Regions from separate parts of the Homo sapiens genome. Here all the other regions are linked to region 3. Evidence: promoter capture Hi-C in 16 types of primary human blood cells and fetal thymus (Javierre and others, 2016). All regions are on one chromosome and are shown on one strand. The core of a region is centred on a gene start or on the middle of the fragment in contact, and the rest is flanking DNA. Distances in the headings are between cores, read along the strand shown. Region 1 overlaps LOC124907975 (a long non-coding RNA gene). Region 2 overlaps ATIC (5-aminoimidazole-4-carboxamide ribonucleotide formyltransferase/IMP cyclohydrolase). Region 3 holds the start of SPAG16 (sperm associated antigen 16).

What was found. The method cuts DNA at HindIII sites, captures the fragments that hold promoters and counts their contacts. A CHiCAGO score of 5 or more calls a contact.
Region 1: a fragment that was not itself captured here is called in contact with the fragment with the promoter of SPAG16 in region 3 in 11 of 17 cell types (naive CD8 T cells, total CD8 T cells, total CD4 T cells and 8 more); the score reaches 32.2 in naive CD8 T cells.
Region 2: a contact is called between a fragment that was not itself captured here and the fragment with the promoter of SPAG16 in region 3, in 8 of 17 cell types (naive CD8 T cells, total CD8 T cells, activated CD4 T cells and 5 more). The highest score is 20.5, in naive CD8 T cells.

Annotation. Positions count from the first base shown.
Region 1 is chr2:215,304,010-215,308,381 of GRCh38, forward strand. It overlaps LOC124907975 (a long non-coding RNA gene), which reads right to left. Exons shown (of 2, transcript XR_007088075.1): 2 at 1-530. Among named protein-coding and RNA genes, the nearest start is that of ATIC, 5.9 kb to the right of the region's middle. The HindIII fragment of the contact is 2,369 bases long and covers 130-2,498 here.
Region 2 is chr2:215,323,929-215,328,728 of GRCh38, forward strand. It overlaps ATIC (5-aminoimidazole-4-carboxamide ribonucleotide formyltransferase/IMP cyclohydrolase), which reads left to right. Exons shown (of 16, transcript NM_004044.7): 5 at 1,313-1,401; 6 at 2,059-2,210; 7 at 2,894-3,050. Among named protein-coding and RNA genes, the nearest start is that of ATIC, 14 kb to the left of the region's middle. The HindIII fragment of the contact is 725 bases long and covers 2,311-3,035 here.
Region 3 is chr2:213,282,155-213,286,516 of GRCh38, forward strand. SPAG16 (sperm associated antigen 16) reads left to right here and starts at 2,310. Exons shown (of 16, transcript NM_024532.5): 1 at 2,310-2,465. The coding sequence starts at 2,330. It overlaps SPAG16-DT (SPAG16 divergent transcript), which reads right to left and starts at 2,055. Exons shown (of 3, transcript NR_161186.1): 1 at 1,879-2,055. RefSeq lists enhancers at 2,343-2,472, 2,513-2,562, 2,633-2,712. The HindIII fragment of the contact is 3,357 bases long and covers 373-3,729 here.

The DNA of each region.
Region 1 (4,372 bases), core at 64-2,563, 2.0 Mb after region 3:
GCTGAGGTGGGAGAATCGCTTGAACCCAGTAGGTGAAGGTTGCAGTGAGCTGAGGTCGCACCACTGCATCCAGCCTGGGCAAAAGAGTGAAACTTTGTCTAAAAAAAGAAAAAATTATTTCCTTGAAGAAGCTTTTCCCTCCCCACCCACAGTCCCTAAGTAGATCCCTCTATAATAAGACTTGCTTCTGTCTTGCATTATCAGATTTCCCTCTTCACTACTGAATCGATCAGTGTTATGGACAAACAAATGTGATTATTCTTTCAGATTAAGAAAAAACAAGGCTGAGTGTGGTGGCTCACACCTGTTATCCAAACATTTTGGGAGGCTGAAAGCAGGAGGCTCACTTAAGCCCAGAGTAACATAGTGACACCTAGTCTTTACAAAAAATTAGCCAGATGTGATGGCGTGCATCTGTAGTTCCAACTACTTGCTAGGCTGAGGAAGGAGGATCTTGAGTCCAGGAGGTCGAGGCTGCAGTGAACTGTGATGGTACCACTGCACTCCAGCCTGGGCAACAGAGTGAGACCCTATATCAAAAAAAACAAAAACAAAATGTCAATAAGCTCCCTGGACCCACTTGTACCACCAGCTACCACCCTATTCCTCTACTCTCCTTTTAGAGTAGTGGTTCTCATCTGGGGGCAATTTTTCCCACAGGAGACATTTGGCAATGTCTGGAGACACTTCTGGTTGTCACAACTGGAGTAGGGGTGCTACTGGTATCTAGTGGTAGAAGGCTTGGATACTACTAAACATCCTGAAATGCTCACGACACACCCCCCATTCCCCCCGCCACACACACACAATAAAGCATTATCCGCTCCAAAATGTCTATAGTTTTGAGGTTGACAAACCCTGTTTAAGAGCAAAACTCCTTAAAAGTGTCATCTTTATTCCACATCTCCAATTCCTTCCCTCTTTGTGTCTCATTTTTTTTTTTTTGAGATAGAGTCTTGCTTTGTTGCCCAGGCTGGAGTGCAATGGATCACTGCAACCTCAGTCTTCCAGATGCAAGTGATTCTCGTGCCTCAGTCTCCCAAGTAACTGGGATTACAGGTGCGCCCCACCACACCCAGGTAATTTTTGTATTTTTAGTAGGGACGGGTTTCACCATGTTGGCTAGGCTGGTCTCAAGCTCCTGACATCAATGATCCGCCCACCTCAGCCTCTCAAAGTGCTGGGATTACAGGTGTGAGCCACCATGCCCAGCCCCCTCATTCTCTCTTGAACCTACTCCAGCCAGACCCTCATCTCTACCACTTCCCCAAATGTGTCCTTGTCAGGATAATCCAACATCTAATGGTTACTCTCAGTCCTCATCAGACTTAACCTGCTGGCAGTATTTGACACACAGTATCATAGGTATCCAGTGTCCTACACTTAACCCTGTTCTTCCCCCCAGGGCTACTACATTTGTATCCTTCCCAATTTCAGCTGATGTCAACTTTATTCTTCCAGCTGTACAAGCGATCATCAATGCTCCTTCTCTTCCTCTCAAACTTGGCATCCAATTTGTCAACAAATCTTATTGGCTCTTCCTTCAAAATATATCTGGGATTTAATTACCTCCTCCAATGTCCACTGCTGCCACTCTGGGCCGTGCCACCCTCATCTTTCACCTAGTGTCAAGGTCCTGGATCATTGTGAGAGCTTTCGTAGGGATTCCCCTGTTCCACCTTTGCTCTCATACAACCAGAGTGAGTGTGTGAAAGAGGTAAATTAGATGTCACTCCTTCCCAAAACTCTCCAAGGGCTTCCTTTCTCATTCAGAATAAAAGCCGAAGTCTTTACGATGTGCCCACACGGCCTTATCCAACCCGATTGCTGACATTGTGTCTTCCTTCTCCTAGTGAAGTTCCCTCTGTTGCTACCATACCACCCTTCCTGACATTCCTTAGACACTACAGCCACACTCCCTATGCACGGCCTTTGCACTTGTTCCCACTGCCTGGAACTTTCTCCTTCAAATACCCTGTGGCTTGTTATCCCCCACCCAGCCCTCCAGTCCTCACTCAAATGTACCTTGTCAGTAAGAAATTCTCTGCCAGGCCTTCCTAAAGGTGCAGCTACCTCTGCCCTGTCCCTCTTCTCTGCTTTATTTTATCCAAAAGGATAAAGTGTCTCTTCACCTGTGGTCCACAGTGGCTCATGCCTGTAATACCAGTACTTTTGGAGGCCGAGATGGGTAGATCGCTTGAGGTCAGGAATTCAAGACCAGCCTGGCCAACATGGTGAAACCCTGTCTCTACTAAAAATACAAAAATTAGCCGGGCGTGGTGGCATGCACCTGTAATCCCAGCTACTCGGCAGGAGAATTGCTTGAACCCAGGAGGCAGAGGTTGCAGTGAGCCCAGATCGCGTCACTGCACTCCAGCCTAGGTGACAGAGCAAGACTCAGTCTCAAAAAACCAAAAAACATTAAATGCCTTCCTGAATGAATTTTCTTTCTTTAGCTTTTTTTGTCGCTCGGGTTATCTACTAGACCTAATTAAGCAAGCTTATCTTCTTCCAGGCTTCAACTACTACTTGAATTTCATTAATTTTCCACGTTTATTTATCTTTAACCTCACTTTTATTCCTGAATTTCATTTGTATTTCCAACAATTTGCTGTATGATTTTAACTGTGTGCACCAATTACCTAGACTTTAAAATCAATATTTAGAAACTCAAACTTATTTACCCAACCACTCACACTGACCTTAAATTAAAATAAACACATGCCACAACTGTTCTTTCTCTTACATATATTTTTATATTTTGGGTGTTGCCTCACCAGCTACTCATATGACGAAGCTAGAAATGATGGAATCATCCCTAGTTTTTTGTGTCTAATATTTCCTATATGTCACTGATCCCTGCATGCTGCTAATTTTACCTATTTTGAATCGTCTCACATAGATAACCTCTTTTCCACCTTCTTATGTGTGAGTGGATGCAAAACCTTCCTAACCAGTTTCTCTACTTCCTACTATTCCAATTCATTCTTTGTATTATTGTCAGCTTTATATCTCCAAACATCTCCAGGACTTTCAAGAAAAATGTTTGAATTTCATACTAGGTCATAAATTAGCTTAATGTTCTGAACTACAGTAGAGAGGAATTTTATACCAAGCTCCTGGGAATCCCTTTATATGATAAACTACATCCACTTGAGTGGACAAACCCTTGGAGCAAGTCAGCCCAAGATGATGCAGCTTTATTAATCGTTAGAGTCCAATAGGAGATCCAAGACTTGGAAGGGAGATGGAGGTTTTTCAAAGAAAGTGATGAGCTTGGCCAGGCGCGGTGACTCACACCTGTAATCCCAGCACTTTGGGAGGCCGAAATGTGCGAATCACAAGGTCAGGAGATCAAGACCATCCTGGCTAACATGGTGAAACCCTGTCTCTACTAAAAATACAAAAAAAATTAGCCGGATGTGGTGGCGGGTGCCTGTAGTCCCAGCTACTTGGGAGGCTGAGGCAGGAGAATGGCGTGAACCCAGGAGGCGGAGCTTGCAGTGAGCCAAGATTGCTTCACTGCACTCCAGCCTGGGTGACAGAGTGAGAGCGAGACTCCGTCTCAAAAAAAAAAAAAAAAAAAGTGATGAATTTACACAAGAAACAAACAACATAGGGGCAAAATCAGATTATAACACCTTCAAAGAACTGAAACAATTCATGTACATTAAATATTTTAAGGTATATTACTATGATTTTAGGGTCTTCAAGCTTCTCTTTGGAGGTATGTGAAGTAAGAAGAAATGAAAATGTAATCATTATAGTGTATACACGCCCTTTCTGTCTTTCTGAAACAATAATCCTGCGATAAACCATTGGTAAAAGATGCATTCTCATCTTTATGAGAACATCTCCCTTTTCTAAGACACTAGCTTGCTGGTGACTAGATCTTTGAAGACATACCTTGGTGCCCAGAAAGATACCTGATTAGCCAGACCAAGGGAACCAAGAAGATTACACCTCTATTTTACTCTTCTTAGTCTCTTTGCAGTTTGTACTTTCAGTAGACTACCTGTACTTAATTCGCTTCTTAAAATATGATGAGGACTGCAGAAAAAATATTATGTCCATATTACAGGTAAAGCAACAAAGGTCCCCAAAAGATGGAGTGACTTGGCCAGGATCACAAAGCTAGTAAAAAATTCATTTACTCTTTTTGTCATTAACATATTAAGTCCTATCAAGTCGGGATGCTAAAACTATGGGAGAATTAATCAGAGTAAATATCTTTATTTTTATTTTTTGAGACAGAGTCTCGCTCTATAGTGCAGGCTTGAGTGCAGTGGCACTATCTTGGCTCACTGCAACCTCTACCTCCTGGTTCAAGCGATTCTCCCACCTCAGCCTTTCGAGTAGCTGGGATTACAGG
Region 2 (4,800 bases), core at 1,423-3,922, 2.0 Mb after region 3:
ATTTTGTATTTTTAGTAGAGATGGGGTTTCTCCATGTTGGTCAGGCTGGTCTTGAACTTCCAACCTCAGTTGATCCATCCTCCTGAGCCTCCCAAAGTGCTGGGATTGCAGGCGTGCGCCACCTTGCCCGGCTAATTTTTGTATTTTTAGTAGAGATGGGGTTTTACCATATTGGCCACGCTGGTCTCGAACTTCTGACCTCAGGTGATCTGCCTGGCTCAGCCTCCCAAAGTGCTGGGATTATAGGCATGAGCCACTGCGCCTGGCCTCTTGTCTTGTTTCTGAGTTGAGTAGACAAGTATTTTAGTCTTTCACCATCAAGTATGATGTTAGCTGTGGGTTTTTCTTACACTTTGTCATGTTCAGTAAGTTCCCTTCTATTTTTAATTTGCTGAGTGTTTCTATATGAATACCTGTTGAATTGTGTCAGATCCTTTTTGTACATCTATTGAGATGATCAGGTGGTTTTTGCATTTTTCTGGATTCAGTTTGTTAGTGTTTTGTTGAGAGTTTTTGTGTGAAGATACCTAAGAGATACTGGTCTCTAGTTTTCTTGTGACATTTGTCTGGTTTTAGTAGGAGGGCAGTAGACTTAATAAAGATGAGCTGCAAAATGTTTCCCCTCCAATTCTGTTCTTCTGTTTTTGTTTTTGTTTTTTTTAATTAGTTTTCAGCAGTTAGGCTTGTTTGGAGCCTGCCCGTAGAGCTCCTCGCACTACAGGCCTAGGAGTGGAACTGTACTTCACTGATTGTTAATTTTAGATTACTTCTGTATTTTAAATTATTCTTTTGGCATTCCTGTTACCATCATTTTTATGACCTCTCTGAAGGCAAAACAAATGTTTCACCCTTAGAATGCTCTGATATTTTTCATCATTGTGCCAATCCACTGGAAAAAGAATCTAAATTCTAATGTTCTGGATAATAGTGATCACATTCCAAAATGAGAATGTTATCTGTAATCTTGTACTTTATACTTCTATTAAAATGTTCTATAAATTTTTCATGGCTTGGTGGTTCTGGGTAGCTAAGGTTATGCAAGCAGCAGCGTTGCAGTGTGACGTGGAGGGAGTACTGTGTATTCAGATCCGGGGAGCACCTGCTGACTAAATTACCTCTGCTCGACCCCAGCAGGACACCCTGACTTTTTAACACACTCGTTAGAATTCTAAAATGTCAGGCTCACAGTTTATATATTAGTTCTCTATGGCTTTTGTTTACGTTAATAGTACTGACTTGTTTTTTTCCTAGATAGCTGTAAACCACATGAGTGGACTTTTTAATGACAGCCAGATTCGTCTTTGTTTTATAGAGTTGTTGCCTGCAATCTCTATCCCTTTGTAAAGACAGTGGCTTCTCCAGGTGTAACTGTTGAGGAGGCTGTGGAGCAAATTGACATTGGTAAGTCAGAAAAACCATTTTAGAAGACTGAGAGGAGAGGATTATTTAAATTTTAGTGAGATTTCATTTTGAATTTTATTACTGAGGAAATAGAAAGAAAATAGCTACTTCTGGATTGTGTTTTGGGATTACTATAATTCATTTATATTTTCTTTTTTTCATTTATATTTTCTAAGCTTTTTTTGTATGCAGAGATGCATCTGGGTTATTTTCCTGATTTATTTATTTATTTATTTTATTTTTATTTTTTTGAGATGAAGTCTTGCTGTGTCACCCAGGCTGGAGTACAGTGGCACAGTTTTGGCTGACTGCAACCTCTGCCTCCTGGGCTCAAGTGATTCTCTTGCCTCAGCCTCCTGAGTAGCTGGGATTACAGGTGCACACCACCACGCCTGGCTAATTTTTTTTGTATTTTTTATAGAGATGGAATTTCGCCATGTTGGCCAGAGTGGTCTCGAACTCCTGACCTCAGGTGATCCACCTGCCTCAGCCTCCCAAAGTGCTGGGATTCCAGGCATGAGCCACTGCGCCCAGCTTATTTTCCTGATTTTTAAGTCAGGAATTAAAATGGAAGTACATGCACAATGACTTTATTTAAAAGCGGTTCATAAGCTGATAGGGACATACAAAAATCAATAAGTCTTTTGTTCTTCAAAGGTGGAGTAACCTTACTGAGAGCTGCAGCCAAAAACCACGCTCGAGTGACAGTGGTGTGTGAACCAGAGGACTATGTGGTGGTGTCCACGGAGATGCAGAGCTCCGAGAGTAAGGACACCTCCTTGGAGACTAGACGCCAGTTAGCCTTGAAGGTGGGATGCACTTTCATGATATTGTAAGTTACATCCATGGAGTGCAGTGTTTGCCAGACCAAGCAGTATTCAGTTCTTGGTAGATTGCATTACCTACCAAAGCTTTGCTTGGAGCTGCTATCCTTTTGTTAAAAATGGAGAAACCAGCTATTACAGAGGTGTTCTGTCAAAAAGATTGAAAGAGAGCTGGGCGCGGTGGCTCACGCCTGTAATCCTAGCACTTTGGGAGGCCGAGGCGGGCGGATCACCTGAGGTCAGGAGTTTGAGACCAGCCTGGCCAATGTGGTGAAACCCTGTCTCTACTGAAAATACAAAAATTAGCCGAGTGTGGTGTGGTGTGGTACGCCTGTAATCCCAGCTACTCGGGAGACTGAGGCAGGAGAATCGCTTGAACCCAGGAGGTGGAAGTTGCAGTAAGCTGACATCACACCACTGCACTCTAGCCTGGGCAGCAGAGTGAGACTTTGTCTCAAAAAAAAAAAAAAAGATTGAAAAAGAATTGGAAAGGGGTAATTTGTTGGGCCATTCAGTGCTTTGCTGTCATTCATGGTGTCATCGTGTTGTGCAGCCACCACATAGCACTGAATAGTGAGGAGATGTTGTTTGCTGTGGACGTAGAAAACCATCTTGTCCCCACTTTGGAAAGTGCTGCTCGTGTCTCACAAAACTTACGCTTTTTGTAGGCATTCACTCATACGGCACAATATGATGAAGCAATTTCAGATTATTTCAGGAAACAGTACAGCAAAGGCGTATCTCAGATGCCCTTGAGATATGGAATGAACCCACATCAGACCCCTGCCCAGCTGTACACACTGCAGCCCAAGCTTCCCATCACAGGTAAAGCCCGAGCGTTCTGTGGCATGGTTTGCTGTGCCTGGAGAGTGTGTGTTTCTCTGTATTGCATCTGATGTGGTTCACATTCAGAAGATGATACATTCCGTAATGCCTCCTGTAGCCATCTGATAACCATCTGGTTTGAGACGCCATTTGGACTGAAGAGCACAGAAGTTGAGTAGTCTGGAGTTCTGAAAAGATGTCATGGGGGAGATGGAGATTGGAATGTCTCTGCCACGTAGATCTTTTTGAAGACATGAGACAGGATGGGATGGCCTGGATTTTATAGAGAAGAGGGTCAAGAAAGCCTTGGGGTAAAGGCTTGGTAGGTGTACTGTGGAGGAACCAGCAGAAGAAAAGTTGTGAAATTCCAACCTTTTAGAATGCATTTGAGAACAGAAAAGGGACTGTTTGTTTTGCACATATTGTAAGAAGCCGTTGCCTTGGAATATTGGATCTAGAAGCCCAATTGAAGTAGGCCAAAGCAGAAATGTGATGTTAAGAACTAACAACGATAAAGAGGTTTCTTGGAACAAGAAAGTAGGACTTTCTCTGGGTTTGTAGAGTTTAGAGAGGGTTTTTAAATGTGTGTCCTGTTCTGTTCCAAAGGTAGGCTGTGAGAGCCTGTCCTGCTCTGGTACAAGGGAGAGTAGGGGCAGGGACAGAGGTGAGAGTCCCAGGCATGGAGGCCTTGGAATCCCAAGCACTACCGGTGCAGCTGGCCTTGGCTGAGAGCAAGGGCAGCCTCCTTCCTGCCTGGGGCGGTCAGCATTTGGTGAGGGGGTGCAGCCTGGGCTTCCTTTCCCTGTCATCAGCTGAGAGAGCGATGGGGGAGGGGAGCAGCGTGCCAGGTGGGAGGAGAATCTGAAAGTTTCTTCACGTTTGCCGCGTTCTATTGTTCTGCCTCAGATAGATTTTTTTTTTTTTTTTTTAAATTAAGACAACGGAGTCTCGCTCTGTCACCCAGGCTGGAGTGCAGTGGCGCAATCTCTGGTTCAAGCGATTCTCCTGCCTCAGCCTCCTGAGTAGCTGGGATTACAGGTGCGCACCACAATGCCTGGCTAGTTTTTCTGTTTTTAGTAGAGATGGGGTTTCACCATGTTGGCCAGGCTGGTCTCAAACTCCTGACCTCAAGTTATCTGCCTATCTCAGCCTCCCAGAGTGCTGGGATTACAGGCGTGAGCCACCACACCTGGCCTCAGATCTCAGATACACTTTGACACTAACACTTCCCAAATCCCCACAGACACCCTGTGAAGTCCTGTAGGCTGAAGTAATCTAAGTAATTTGTTTTCTCTCGGCCTTTCTGGGCTTCACAGCACAGTAATCTTTTAAAAATGGAAATCGGATGATGTCAGACCCTACTTAAAGCCATTCCTTGGCTTTTCTTAAGCACTTTGCCCTGCCCCACAAACCCTGTGCTGCCTGCCTGCCTCCTATCTGCCCCCTCAGCAGCTCTCCCTGCGCCTGCTGCTAGCCCCTCCGCCCTGTGCCTCCAAGTGGGCCCAGCTCTTTCCACTCCAGCGCCTCTGGCTCCTTGTCCCCTTCACCCAGAATTCTTCCCTCTGCCCTTCACCGTCCTGGTTTCTTGTTATTCAGGCCTCACCTCCTCAGAGAAGCCTTCCTTGACCGCTTAGACCAAAGTAGCAGCCCATCATGCTTTCATCCCATCACCCTGTTTTGCTGCATGTGTTTCTATTCAATCTGTTCAAATTGTCTTCCCCCATTAGGATGGCAGCTTCCTTTTTTTTTT
Region 3 (4,362 bases), core at 1,060-3,559:
ATTTCGTTTAGTCTTCATACTTTAGTAAGGTAGGTACTAAAATCTCCGGTTTACAGAACAGGAAACTAAGGCTCAGAGAACTTAATTAAGGTCATACAGAAGAGGCAGGAGACAAACATCTGTAGAAGATCACACACTACATCTAAAAAGTCAGAAATAGATGAGCCATTGTAACGAACAAAAACAAATAAAAGTAAACAGTAATCGCTCTGAGAGACCATCCTTCATGTCTTTTGTGTTCCTACATGTCTTGCTGGATATGCCAAAAATGTAAGGCCTTGACCACTCCTTACCCAGGTCATTTGTTAAGGCTGGATTTATAGGAAACAACCTTGAGAGATAAGGTAATGCCTTCTTCTGAAATAAAGAGAAAGCTTTCTGTAAAAGCAGTGGATTCTCCAATGTCAGAATTCTTCTGTATTTTCAGCCTCCTGTAATTGTTCCTTGCATTTAATGAGTACTCAGGAAATGTCTGATGTGAGAAGTCAAGGACAAAGAGTAGGGTAGTAAAAGAATAGGTACCAGGAATGAATTACCCGACTATTATATCTGTGACCCTTGATTATTCTAAAAAATAAAACAATATCAAACACATTTAATAGAAATAACAGCTAACATTTCTTAGTGTCTTCTATGTTCCCAGTAAGTTCTTAATGCTTTTTGTTGCTTTACCCCTTGCAACAGCACTTTGAGGTAGGTAATATTGTTGTCTTTGTTCTACAAATGATGAAACTGGGGCCTAGAGGCATTAAGTAGTAGTTTGCCCAATGTGTCATAGCTAGTAAGTGATGGAAGCAGGCTCTGAAAGCTGTCTCTCTGGCTCTGACACACGTACTCTCAAACACCTCCTTAGGAAGTTACTGCTACCTTTTGGTAATAAATGGGAGCTTTTATAGGATCACTGGCTTCCAGTTTTCACCAAGAAATGTAGAATGAAAAATAATACCATTTGCCCTAGCAATCCCATTACTGGGTATATACCCAAAGAAACAGAAATTGTTCTACCATAAAAACACATGTACATGCGTGTTCATTGATATTCATGATAAAGACATGGATTCAACCTAAATGCCCATCAACGGACTGGATAAAGAAAATGTGGTACACATATACCATGGAATACTATGCAGCCACAGAAGAATGAGATCATGTCCTCTCAGGGACATGAATGCAGCTGGAGGCCATTATCCTTAGCAAACTAATGCAGGAACAGAAAACCAAATACTGCATGTTCTTAGTTGTAAGTGGGAGCTAAATAATGAGAACAAATGGACACAAAGAAGGAACAACAGACACTGGGGCCTACTTGAGGAGGAGAGTGGGAGGAGGGAGAAGATCAGAAAAAATAACTATTGGGTACTACACTTAGTACCTGGGTGACGAAATAAGTTATATACCAAACCCCTGCGACATGAGCTTACCTGCACTTGTACCCCTGAACCTAAAATAAAAGTTAAGGGAAAAAAAAATATTTGCAAAGAAAAGGGCCTTGAATTTGCTTCTGATACATACGCGATATAACCTGAGGAAGATCCTCTCAGCAATAAGACTATACATGATGGGGCAAGTGTCAACTGCATACATTTGTCAGGACCAAATTTGTAGCTCATAATTTTTATGCAACTGTTTTTACCTTGGCGAGAATCAATGCTACAAATACTATTCCAAGTCTTAGTATATGGAACCAAACTCAAAACAGATGTCCAGCTAAATGCATTAAAGATCACAAGAAAGGAATTGACAAAGCTGAACACCATAGTTCTTCATTGCTAAGCATCTGAGGAGCGTCTGGTAGCTCCCCTGGGTCAGTCTTTCTATTATGATTTCTAGAACTTTATTTTTTCATTTTTTAAAAAATTCCAGGTGTTGAGAACTCACCTTTTCTAGTAGTTTTCCCTGGGAACACTTGGGGATCTACAAACATCTGAAATTGGAGGATGCTAATGGGCAAGAATCAAGAGAAAGGTAATTCAGAGACGACAACGAAGTGGGAAAGAAATTACAGGGTCAAAGCGAAAGAAAACCAAGCTGCTTGGGTAGGAAGGTGCAATGCAAGCCAATTGTTTACTGTATCTTGTCCGCTCCCAGAGCTGCGCCCGAGCTCTCGCGTTAACTAGGCAACATCGTTGCCACGGTAACTGGGAGGCGCGGGAGGGCGACAGCTCCCTGGACTCCCGGTAACCCTTACGTGCCCGGGGCTGGTCCGTGGGGCGGGGTGAGAGATGCCGGAATCTCGCGAGAGCTCCCGGGGGCCGTTGGGTAGCGTCTTCGCTGTTGCCCTTAGGGACGGCTGTGGGCCTGCTGGGGGTGGGGGCCCGAAGCGCCAGAGATGGCTGCTCAGCGAGGGATGCCCAGCTCCGCCGTGAGGGTCCTGGAAGAGGCGTTGGGCATGGGTTTGACGGCAGCCGGGGACGCGAGGGACACGGCGGACGCGGTGGCGGCTGAGGGCGCCTACTACCTGGAACGTATCCTTCCCGTGGAGGCGCGGCCCGCTGCGCTGGCGGGTAATGGGTGTTGGGACGAAGGCGAGGGCCTCCCACTGGCGGCGCCTTTTGAGCCTTGGGGCCACTCCGGAGGAGCCTCTGTTGGACTTCAAGGTGCTGTTTTTGCCACCACAGTCTTCCTGAGAGCCACTCACTGAATTTCTCGCCCTTAGTAGCCCAGGGTGTCCTGTACCTGTTAGAAGAGTTGGGAGACCTTCCAAGGCCTCATACTTAGTAACCACTCAGTACATTTTGGATGGAGGGTTGCTTTTTATGTTAAGACAGCACAACAAATTGCTTCAACCCTCCTTTCAAATAATGGGTTTCCTAAATAAGCCCTCAATCTTTCAGAAAGCCGTCCCAATAAATTCAACGGAGGAACGTTAGGAGACTAGGGAAAGACCTCTGCCATTGGACTTTAAGGAGCTGAAGCTCAGAATACCCAACCCACGATCCTGTTCGATGGTCCAGTTAATGCTTAAATGCTTAGTTTTGATAGCATTATCTTCCTGAGTAGTTCCAAGTTTGACTACTTAATAATAAATACTAATAGTATAGTTGCTTTTTTTTCTTGAGCAAATAAATAATGATCTGGTGAGCTACACAGCTCAGAGATATTAGGAATAAAGCAGATGGTGATTAGCGATTTTTATCGGAAGTACCAGAAAAATTGAATAACAATGTGTGGATAATTAGGTCCACTATTTCTTGTGTAAGGCTTTAGAACTTCTTTCCTCTAGTTATATAGATTAATTCCTACTAGGGAGACGGGGAGGGTTCATGAGAAAAAGACATGTAACTCCTTTATTCAGGGAGGTAAGAAAGAGATGATTATCTGTTCAGTTCTTAAAGATACCAAGGAAACTCCAAAATCTGCCAAATCTTATTTGTTTGTCCAACTGTAATCCTCTCCAGGTTTAATTCAAGATTTCAGAAATCCAGCAATGATTCATTTCGTGAGCTTTGACAAGCCGATTAACCTGTCCTGACTCAGGCTCAGTACACATCCACACTACAGAGAGCTTTGAAGAATTTAGCTGAAAGATTAAAGAAAATATGTAGTATTTTATTGGGTGCAAAAACGACTTTTACAGGAATAGAAATTTGAATCGCTTGAAATGAATTTGAAAGAAATATATGGGTGCTTTAGTGTCATAAATGAGGTTTTATACTGTTTTCGTAGATGTAACAGGCAGTCTTTTCCAGTGATATTCCTCTTTAACAACGATTTTCATAATTCTTCCTAAGCTTATCTATATCCAGTGCCCTTGCTACTGAATGGTAACCAGGCATCTTGTAATTTTGTTTGCATTAAAATTATTTCCGTGAACACATAGTTTAATTGTTAACATGAGATTGACACAATGAGGTAACTTTTTGCAAACATCTTTGTGAAATAAATGGTAGGAGTCTAACATAACACAACTTTCAGCAATGAAAATCAGGTTTACTTAATGTGCAGGGAGATCACTGAGTCACACCTGCCAAGATGTAGCAGTTTGCAAACCTGTCTTACAAAGACTTTTTCAAATAATCACACTTATTTGAACTTTAACACATATAAGCAACTGTAACTTTTTAGGATTTTACTAACCGTTGTGTGAATTATCCAACCCATTTGCTTTTCTTCTTTCTTTGGTTGACTGACTGCTATTTTGTATTTTAACCAAATGGTAGTCAGGGGATACACAGTTAAACATTTAACCAGTTTATTTTGCTATATTCCATGCTGAGGGAAGAGGTTTAGTCATTTCAACTCTCAGTTGAAATGAAGTTTGAGGATTACTTGTGAATACCAATTATTCCTGTATCCCTGGGCACTCTTCACATGGTTAATTAAGAGTTGCCTGTGTAATGTTGTTTGACATTGTTTCTTAAG